Linked DNA regions of Homo sapiens: region 1 is linked to region 2. The links are contacts of gene promoters, found by promoter capture Hi-C in blood cells and fetal thymus (Javierre and others, 2016). All regions are on one chromosome and are shown on one strand. Each heading gives the region's core, a stretch centred on a gene start or on the middle of the fragment in contact. The rest is flanking DNA. Distances are from core to core; before and after follow the strand shown. Region 1 overlaps TBCD (tubulin folding cofactor D). Region 2 holds the start of WDR45B (WD repeat domain 45B).

Region 1 (4,738 bases), core at 629-3,128, 290 kb before region 2:
GGAGACACCTAGGGAACGTCACCTACGTCCTTGCTGGATTCAACAAGGGGCGTGGACCCCACAGACCTGTAGCAACGCACCGGGATCAGCACGGAGGCCCTCACAGTCGGCACTCAAAACAGAGCAGCATCCACAGGCAGGACACCTGGGACTCCACCACCCCGGGTATGCCATGTGGACACCCACACAGCCTCTGGTTGCTTCAGTCCTGATCTCCAACACGGGGTGACGAGACTGCTCCCCTTTTAGAAGTGTGTGTGTGTGTGTGTGTGTGTGCGCGCGTGCAAGTGAGCATGTGTGTGAGCCAGCATGGGTGCCCATGCCCATATGTGTAAGACACCATCACTGCTGTTCCCAGGAACATACCGGTTGGCCCAGGACACCTGAGCCTGCACTTTCCCCACTCTGCTCTCATTCAGACCCTCCCACCCCCAACTCAATACACACATCTTTCAAAACCGCCATTCTACTCCACCCATGGTAAAGAAGCCAGCCCATGTTGCAGAAACTGTGCCTGCCAAAGTAAACGTGGAGAGTGGCACTATGGCCTCCTGAGGGCCTCATGGCCCTGAGGAAGGGGGTGGACATCAGAGCAGAGGCGTGGGGAGAGCTTTTCTTATTTCCGCCTGTGCCTCTTGATTTCCAACAGGTGCTCACACGGCCTATTCCAAGAGAACTTTAGAGAGGTCTGGGGCAGCAGCACCTGCCAGGCCTTCAGTGCCCTCTGCTCCACAGGCCACCAGACACAGCCTTGTGGTACAGGTGCCCGCTCCCCTGGTGGGATGGATGGCTTTGCTGTGTTCCTGACACCTGACACTGTTTGGGGACAGGGCGGTTGAGAAGAGGTTTCGGCTACAGCAGCACGGCTGCCTTGTAAAACCTAAGCAGAGGATGTGGAGACCTGGGAACCCTCTTTCCTCCTCCTATCAGAGGGTTTTGGGAGAGACGAGTAGACACGGTGGGGACAGGAAGAGGGGCGGTGCCAGGCCCAGGTGGCCGTGCAGGAAGGGCCTTCACTCACCACGCAGTGTCACTGAGCACAGTCACCACCTCGTCCAGCACATCCGCGCCCACGACGTCACTGTAGGTGAGCAATGTCTCGTACACCTGGCTGGCCGTGGTCTTCCGGATCTGGGACAGGGATGCAGTGCATTTGCCGGAGGGAAGCGCCACCGCCCCACCCCGGAGAGACGACAGGACCCAGGCCAGGGAGCCCCGTCAGTGGAAGGCGTCAGGAGGAGGACGCTGACCCTGCATCCCATCCCAGCCACAGCAGGGCTGCAACCAAGAGGAGGTGCCTTCCAGGCCCATTAACCACCTCCTCCCTCCACAGACACACAGCTAGCTGCAGGATCCCAGCAGTGAAGATGACATCATTCTTGTTTAAATGCTTTATTAACCAACCTGCTCCCTCACCAGAGAAGCAATCTCGCCTGCTCTCTATTAACTAACCTGCTCCCTCACCAGAGAAGCAATCTCGCCTGCTATTAACCAACCTGCTCCCTCACCAGAGAAGCAATCTCGCCTGCTCTCTTTTCATCAGAGAAGCACTCTCACCTGCTCTCTATTAACCAACCTGCTACCTCACCAGAGAAGCAATCTCGCCCGCTATCTATTAACCAACCTGCTCCCTCACCAGAGAAGCAATCTCACCTGCTCTCTTTTCACCAGGGAAGCAATCTCGCCTGCTCTCTTTTCATCAGGGAAGCAATCTCGCCTGCTCTCTTTTCATCAGGGAAGCAATCTCGCCTGCTCTCTTTTTGAGTGGTGCCCTGGTCATCATGTCTCACTGCGCTGGTGGTCTGAGCCCCGGGCCCACCCTGGAGGTGCTGAGTCGGCAGCACAGGGCCCAAGAGCTGCACTGCTGAAGCCCCAGAGGTGCCAAGCCTGAGGGTCCGGCACCCCACTTCGAGAACCACCATACAACATGAAGTTACTTTTGCCTTTTAGGAAAATGTCACCTTTGTATCATCTGAGGTTTTTTTTGCAGCCAGGAGAAAAGAAATCCTAGAAATCTAATAGCCGGGGAGTGCTGGGGATGAAGGGCACTGCCCCTAGGTGTGGCTGAACCACTTCAGCCTGGGTCCTTCTGGAAGCTCCTGAGCCAGATCCCACCGCCAGGTCACCCCTCAATGTATGTCCATAGAAACGCCAGCCGGACAGCCCGTCCTTAAAGCCAGAACAGTGGCGTCCAGAGCCCCTTGGCAGCCGCGTGCCTGTGACGCGTCGTCACCCAGGCGCGTTAACGAGAGGGGCTCGGCTGGAAAGCACACCAACACAACAGTGCCAGCGAAGGCCTTCTTGTCACTGAGGGGCTTGTGTCCACACGGCAAACACACGTGAGCAGGGGCAGGCACTCACCAGCGGGAAACGGTGGCAGAGGAGCAGACACAGCTGCAGGAGGGCCTGCCTCCTCACGTCGCCGGGGAACTGCACCATCTCGCAGAACCTGCCGGGAGCAGCACATGGCTCCAGGTGAGCCCCACCCCGCGCAGGCCAACCCCAGCAAACCCCGGACCCAAAGGCCCATGCAGAGACCTGGGCAGAGCAGATCCGTGAGCACAGTGCGGGCCTGGGGCCCCAAGCCGGAGGTGTGTGTGTGCGTACATCTGCACTGTGCCTACACACACGAGTGTCGCACTTGGAAAGTCACTGTGGGAAGTGAGGACGCCTCACAGAGGATCTCCTGCAGGGCCGCTCGCCCTGCCATGAGGACCCCCACCTCAAGGAGCCACAGAGCAGCCAAGGTGCCTATCGCTGGCTGGCGCACCTGCCCAGTGTCCACCTGAGCGCCGCAGAGCAAGGCACTCAACAGCGACCCCCAGGGCACACAGGAGAATCGGGGAGGCAGCCCCTGACCACGCAGCTCCTTTCCGGAGCCTCCCCTCCCGCCAGGGCAGAGCGCGAGGGCAGCAGAGGCAGAGCTCGCCTGTTCCCGCGGGAACTCCCTCCACCAGCACCTGGGCTGCCTCACCTCCCATTGCGACTGCTTTGAACATTGGAATGCACGATCTTAGGTTAGCTTGAGGAGTAACACTAACTGCTCCTCTCCCGCCTGGAGCCGTGGACTCCTGCCCTCAGCCAAGGGAGGCTGCGCCCTGCCATTCCGTCTAAGGCCAGCAGCACTTGAAACTCACACTGCGATGCCTGACAGGAGCTTCTGGATATCTTTTGAATTCTTGATTTCTTTCTTACAGAGCGCAAGCAACTTCACAGCAAAGGGGTGGCTGGAAGAACAACACACACTTTAGAGATGAGCTTTCACAGGCAGCCCCGGGATGCACACTTTTTCTGTCTCAAAGAAGGTCAACTCCGTCCTCCCAGTGGCTCAGTCCAAGAAGCCTGCAGCCCTGAGGCCCCTCTGCCAGCAAGTCCGCTGGTCCCCATCCCAATACCTCCACAGGCCGGCCTGGTCCCTAGCGGCTGTGCCACCACCTGGCCGGCCTCTGCTGTCTCTTGCTCTCTTGCCTGTGGTGCAGCAGCCCCCACGGGGCCCCACCTCCCTTTCCAGGCCCCAGGGTCTGTCCCCAACACAGCGGCGGCCAGGATGCCCGTGCTCCTCCACCACTCCCTCCAGAGGCTACCTGGCCTGGGCTGCTGCAGAGCCGGGGGAAACTGCCGACACACAGAGGACACACAAGGCTGTGCAGTGTTGTTTTGAGCCTTCAGTGGCAGCAGGGACAAGGGCTGAGGCTTGGTGCTGACAAAGGCACAGCCCTGATGAGCAGCTCTGAGAGGGCACCTGGAAGGCCACTCCAGGGAGGAGAAGGTGCGCACCTCCCTCTCTCAGTGGGGAATGCAGCCAAGCTCCAGCCACCCAACAGGCCAGGAAACCCTCACTGCTGACCGTGAGTCAAGGAGACCCCAGGCTGCTGCTACCCTCTCCTCAGGTGCCCAGAAAAGGCAAACTAAGGTCCTGCCTGCCAAAGCACAGGCTTAGCCCAGACCTCGGCTTGCTCTGAGGTGCGACCCCTCAAACGCAACGTCCCGAGAGAACACAATACCAGACAAGTAAGAAGACAAAGAAACCCGCTCAGGTTGCAACTCAGACACACCCAGCCAAACAGGCAGGAAAAGAGCATTCAAGAGGATGAACACCGGGCACGGAAGGAAGGGCCGCAGGGAACGGCGAAGCGGAAAGCGCTACAAGCAGACGTGGAAACACGCGAGACAAAAAACCTACACCTGAAAAGACGCAAAACTCCACAATAAGAATTCCACAAATCACAGTTAAAAGTCATTTAGAGACATCTTCAGAGAGAATCAGCAGCTGGCAGGCGGGCCAAAGGTAATGAAGCAAAGAGAGAGGGAAAAGACGTGTGAAAATTGCAGAGGGGGTGACCGAGGGAAACACGTGAGCGTGATAATGACAGAAAAACCAGGGAAGGAGCAAACCTGGGCAGGGGGTGGGAAACCCGGGCCGTTTCCAGGGAGCACAGGCAGACTCAGAGGTAACACTCAAAAGCAACAACAGAAGCAAGGAGGAAGTGGGAAAATATTTTTAATGTGCTACAACGAAACAGCTGCCTGAATTCTATATACCCTCTGAAAATAATCTGCACATAAAATGGGAAAGCTTCACCGCAGCAGACCCCACTCGAGGAAATCCAAGGGAGTGTGCTCTAGGGAGAGGGAATGTGAACCCCGATGGGGGGGGTCCCAAAAGCAGTAAGTGATGAGAGACAAAGAAAGTAAAAACGTGGAAAATTCAAAGTAACGCAAATTACACATACCACAA
Region 2 (4,739 bases), core at 1,244-3,743:
CCAGGCTGGGAGGCTCTGGGGAAGAACCGTTCATGCCTCTCCCGGCTCCTGGTGACCCCACGATTCCTGCACTTGCTGACTTAGGGCTGAGCACTCCAGTCCCACTGGCTGCTGTCCCCTGTATCTCCTCCATTCCTGTCTCCTCCAAGGGTGCCGGTCACCAGCTTTAAGGCCCACCCCAAATCCAGGATGATCTTATCTCGAGATCCTTAATTACTTCTGCAATGATTCTTTACCTAAAGAAGCCCCTATTCTCAGGTTCTGGGTGGACCTATCTTTTTTTTTTTTTTTTTTTGCGACAGAGTCTTGCTGTGTTGCCCAGGCTGGAGTGTAGTGGCACAATCTCAGTTCAGTGCAGCCTCAGCCTCAATCTCCTGGGCTCAAGCCATCCTCCCTCCTCAGCCCCCCAGGACACATCTTTAGAGGGTCACCATTCAACGCACTGTGGTGGGCAAGGCTGCTTTGAGTTTCCTGGTTAGGATACAACCAGCGCTGTGTGTGGATGTCCACACATGCCCCCGCCCCCGGCTGTACAGCCACCGGGAGACTGAGTAAAATGTGAACTGAAGGAGGCCCCAAGGGTGGCAAGCAGAGAAATGAAGGGAAATGTCCCTTACCCACGCCTCTCTCCTTCCCCCACGTGACACTTCTCACAGCAGGTACCGGTACGTGTGCACAGAGGAGAACCCAGTGCCCTTCAGGGAAGAGGGTGCTGAGCCCCTGGACCGCACTTAGGTCTCGCCCCAGCTCTGTGATTTGGACCTGGGCCCCCGAGCCCTAGTCACAGCCGGGGCGGCCCAACTCGCTCCGCCATCGGAAGGCTTCTGGTCGCTCTCAGGGAGGAGCCCCTCTCGTATGGGAATCGAGGTGTTCAATGCCCACGATGCGGAGACCGCCTGGCCCGAGTGGGCCAGTGATCTCAGCTTACAGTCCAGCTCCTTCCTCCCCATGGCTAAGAGGTCAGCACCAGCTCAGGCAAGTGGCGAGGGTGGGATGAGGATGACAGACGGGGTGGAGGCAGGTGGCTGCGAGGGGACAGTGTCAGGACCTCCTAGGAGATCAGGTGTGCTGCAGGGAACAGGGAGAGCCTAGGAGGGGACAGGAAAGTGAGGAGGGGGAGTGGAGAGGACTCCCTGGGCAAGAGACACGAGGGCCAGCACTCAGGCCTCCACAGCCATCCACTGCATGAGCCAAGCCCAGGGACAAAGCTCTGTGACCAGGATGCCCCCAGCAGCCTGACCCTAAGAGTTGAGAACTGTGCCCTGTGAGCAATGTGACCTGAGGGTCCCGGAGTCCTGCGGGGGCTGTGCTGTGTGAGGGCCACCTGTCCTTTAGGTGGGGTACTAAGGGGTTGTGTCCTCTATGGGCTGTGTCGTGGGGGGGCTGTGTGTCCTCTGGGGGGCTATGTGTCCTGGGAAGGTCCCTGTGTCCTGGGAAGGTCTCTGTGACCTGGCGGTCTGTGTGTCCTGGGGGGGCTGTGTGTCTTAGGGGGACCTCTGTGTCTTCTGGGGGAATATGTGCCCTGGAAAGGACTCTGTGTACTGGGGGAGGCTGTGTGTCTTAGGGGGGCTGTGTCCTGGGGGGGTTTCTGTGTCCCGGGGGGGCTGTGTGTCCTGGGAGTGCTGTGTCCTGGGGGACCTCTGTGTCCTGGGGGCACTGTGTGTCCTGGGGGGACCTCTGTGTCCTGGAGACTGCGTGTCTTGGGGGTCCTCTGTGTCCTGGGGGGTCTCTGTCCTGGGGACTGTGTGTCTTGGGCACCCTCTGCGTCCTGCAGGAGCTGCGTGTCCTGGGGGGGCTGAGTGACTTGGGGGCCCTCTGTGTCCTGGGGGTCTCTGTCTCCTGAAGGGGGACCCTAGTATTGTGGCGCTTCTGGGCTTGCCTCTCATGAGGGATGATGCACCGGGCCTCAGTTTTGGGTCAGCCTCCTTTACCGGCTCTCCCCCCTTCCTCCGACCGTCAGGTATCCGTGCCAAGCCCTCAACGGGCCATCCTCCTTCCCGCGGCGACCCCGCGCATGACAAGGCCAGACCCTCCCGCGAACGTGCTCTGCGCTCCCGCCTGGCCCCTCCCCGCCCCGCCCCTCCCCCTCCTCCCCGCCCCGCCTCGCTCCGCCCCTCCCCGCCTCCGCCCCGCCCCGCCCGCCCTGCCTCTCCCCGCCTTTCCTCGCCTCGCCCCGCCCCGCCCCGCCCCCTCCTCCCCGCCCCGCCTCGCTCCGCCTCTCCCCGCCTCATCCCGCCCCGCCCGCCCTGCCTCTCCCCGCCTCATCCCGCCCCGCCCGCCCTGCCTCTCCCCGCCTTTCCTCGCCTCGCCTCGCCTCGCCCCGCCCCGCCCCTCCCCGCCCTGCCTCGCCTCGTCTCGCCTCGCTTCGGTTAGATGCGCTCGGCGCTCCATAGGCTCCCTGGTGGGGCGCGGGCGCGCGCACGGACGTCCAGCACGCACGCACGCACGTCCAGCACACACGCACATCCAGCACGCACGCACGTACGTCCGGCACTTCCGGCCGCGGCGGCCTCAGCGCCGGCCCGAAGGGACCAGGCCGCCGTCCCCAGCGAGAGGCATGCAGCGCTGAGGAGCGGCGACCCAGCACGGCGGCGCCATGAACCTCCTGCCGTGTAACCCTCACGGCAACGGGCTGCTCTACGCCGGCTTCAACCAGGACCACGGTGAGGAGGCGCGGCCCTGTCGCCTTGCCCGGCCGGGCCTTCCCGCAGCCCGGGGTCCCCGGCTCTCAGGCCTCTCCTGGGCGCCCCTTTCCGGCCAGGCCTTCCACCCGGGACCCCGGCCCCGCCCGAGCTCCCCTCCGAAGCCCCCGGCCCCGGCCCTCGCCGCTGCTCCCAGCCCGAGCCGGGGTCCGGACCAGGCCCGAACCGGCTCCCACCTTCCTGGCCTTTCGCGCTCCCCCACCCCCCGGGTTGTGACCGCTCCCAGCCGGCCGTCCCGGGCCGAGGTCGAGGTCGGTGGGAGACGGCACAGAACCCCAGCCTCCTGCGCGGACGCCCCTCCCCGCGCGCCACGCCCACTCGGGTTCCCTGGCTCCCTGCGGGCTCCACGGTTATCGGGATTTTCCCCACAGCGTGATTGACGCCCTGCCCAGAACCCCGTTTTGCCCCCTGTTCCTTTCAGGGTCTTTAGTAGGTAGCCCGTGGCTGAGCTGACTTCGCTTGGGTTTACTGGAGCCGCGGAGCCGGCGTCTCCGACGCCTCTGGTGGCGAGTGGCGCGGGTGGGGTGCAGGTCTCACCTTTCCCGTCGGTTTCCATCGGAAAATGTCACTCTCCCCACCCCCACTCCCCGGGATTTTTCTTCGTGTTTGGTGGAGTCAAAGGACTTAAGGGAGGCCTTTGAGGGAAATCTTACTTCTTTTCCCATGTCGGAATCCAGGTGTAAGCACTGGATGATTTAAAGCGCCCAGGGAAGGTGACCTCCTTCCCCGCAGGTGCTTCGGAGCTGCGGGGGATGCGGCCGGGGCGGCGCGGTCGGATTCCCGCGGGAGGCGGGCGGGACCTGGATTCGGATGGTTGCCTCCTCACCTCCCATTTGAAGGGCGCGCTTCCCAAAGGTCCTGATGGGGAGGAAAAGGAATGTCCGTTATTCCGAGACAGGCTTCTGCGAGGCTTTACATGTTGGCTTTGGAAGTTTTGTTTTTGAAGAGAATCCAGGCAGGTGCTGTATGATCCCGTATATGTGAAGACAATTTTATTTATTTATTTATTTCATTTTGAGACGGAGTCTCATTCTGTCGCCCAGCCTGGTGCGATCTCGACTCACTGCAACCTCCTCCTCCCGGGTTCACGCCATTCTCCTGCCTCAGGCTCCTGAGTAGCTGGGATTACAGGCGCCTGCCTCCACGCCCGGCTACTTTTTGTATTTTTAGTAGAGACGGGGTTTCACCATGTTGGCCAGGCTGGTCTCAATCTGACCTCAGGTGATCCACCCGCCTCGGCCTCCCAAAGTGCTGGGATTACAGGCGTGAGCCACTGCGCCCGGCCGGATTACACATATTTGAAAGAACTCCCTCTCAGTGATTTTGATGCCTGATGCCCTGGGACCAGTCAGGCTTCCTGGGCGCTGCCAGCTTCCCCAGGGTTGTGTGCTGGGGTTTCTCCGGAAGAAAGTTTTGCTGAGATGGTAAGGGAGATGCCTAGCCTTCTCAGAGGGTGGTTTCCAACCATCTGGTGTTTGTAATGCCTTCTTTTTAGTGAAGTGTGCTATACCTGTAGAAGGGTGGATATATCATAAGTGTTCAGGTGATGAATTTTCCAAACTACACACCTGTCACTAACAATTAAGAAATTGAATATACCTGGCCACGCTTGATTCCAATAAATGCTCCCTACCTGACTTGTGACATCATAGATTAGTTTTGCCTACTTCTGTACTTTATTTTTGTACTTATTTTTGTTTCTAGCTGTTTTTTTGTTTTGGGTTTTTTTTTTTTTTTTTTTTTTTTGAGACGGAGTTTTCGCTCTTGTTGCCCAGGCTGGAGTGCAATGGCGCGTTCTAGGCTCACTGCAAACTCCGCCTCTCAGGTTCAAGCAATTCTCCTGTCTCAGCCTCCCGAGTAGCTGAGATTACAGGCATGCACCACCATGCCTGGCTAATTTTGTATTTTTAGTAGAGACTGGGTTTCTCCGTGTTGAGTCTGGTCTTGAACTCCTGACCTCAGGTGATCCGCCCACCTCGGCCTCTCAAAGTGCTGGGGTTACAGGCGTGAGCCACGGCGCCAGGCTGTTTCTAGGTT

The links. The method cuts DNA at HindIII sites, captures the fragments that hold promoters and counts their contacts. A CHiCAGO score of 5 or more calls a contact.
Region 1: a contact is called between a fragment that was not itself captured here and the fragment with the promoter of WDR45B in region 2, in 1 of 17 cell types (M0 macrophages). The highest score is 5.0, in M0 macrophages.

The regions. Positions count from the first base shown.
Region 1 is chr17:82,935,760-82,940,497 of GRCh38, reverse strand. It overlaps TBCD (tubulin folding cofactor D), which reads right to left. Exons shown (of 39, transcript NM_005993.5): 35 at 3,138-3,227; 36 at 2,362-2,449; 37 at 1,022-1,131. Among named protein-coding and RNA genes, the nearest start is that of ZNF750, 98 kb to the right of the region's middle. The HindIII fragment of the contact is 5,400 bases long and covers 1-4,578 here.
Region 2 is chr17:82,646,198-82,650,936 of GRCh38, reverse strand. WDR45B (WD repeat domain 45B) reads left to right here and starts at 2,493. Exons shown (of 10, transcript NM_019613.4): 1 at 2,493-2,663. The coding sequence starts at 2,597. RefSeq lists enhancers at 1,901-1,970, 2,349-2,848 and silencers at 2,261-2,330, 2,931-2,980, 2,991-3,040. The HindIII fragment of the contact is 18,003 bases long and covers 1-4,739 here.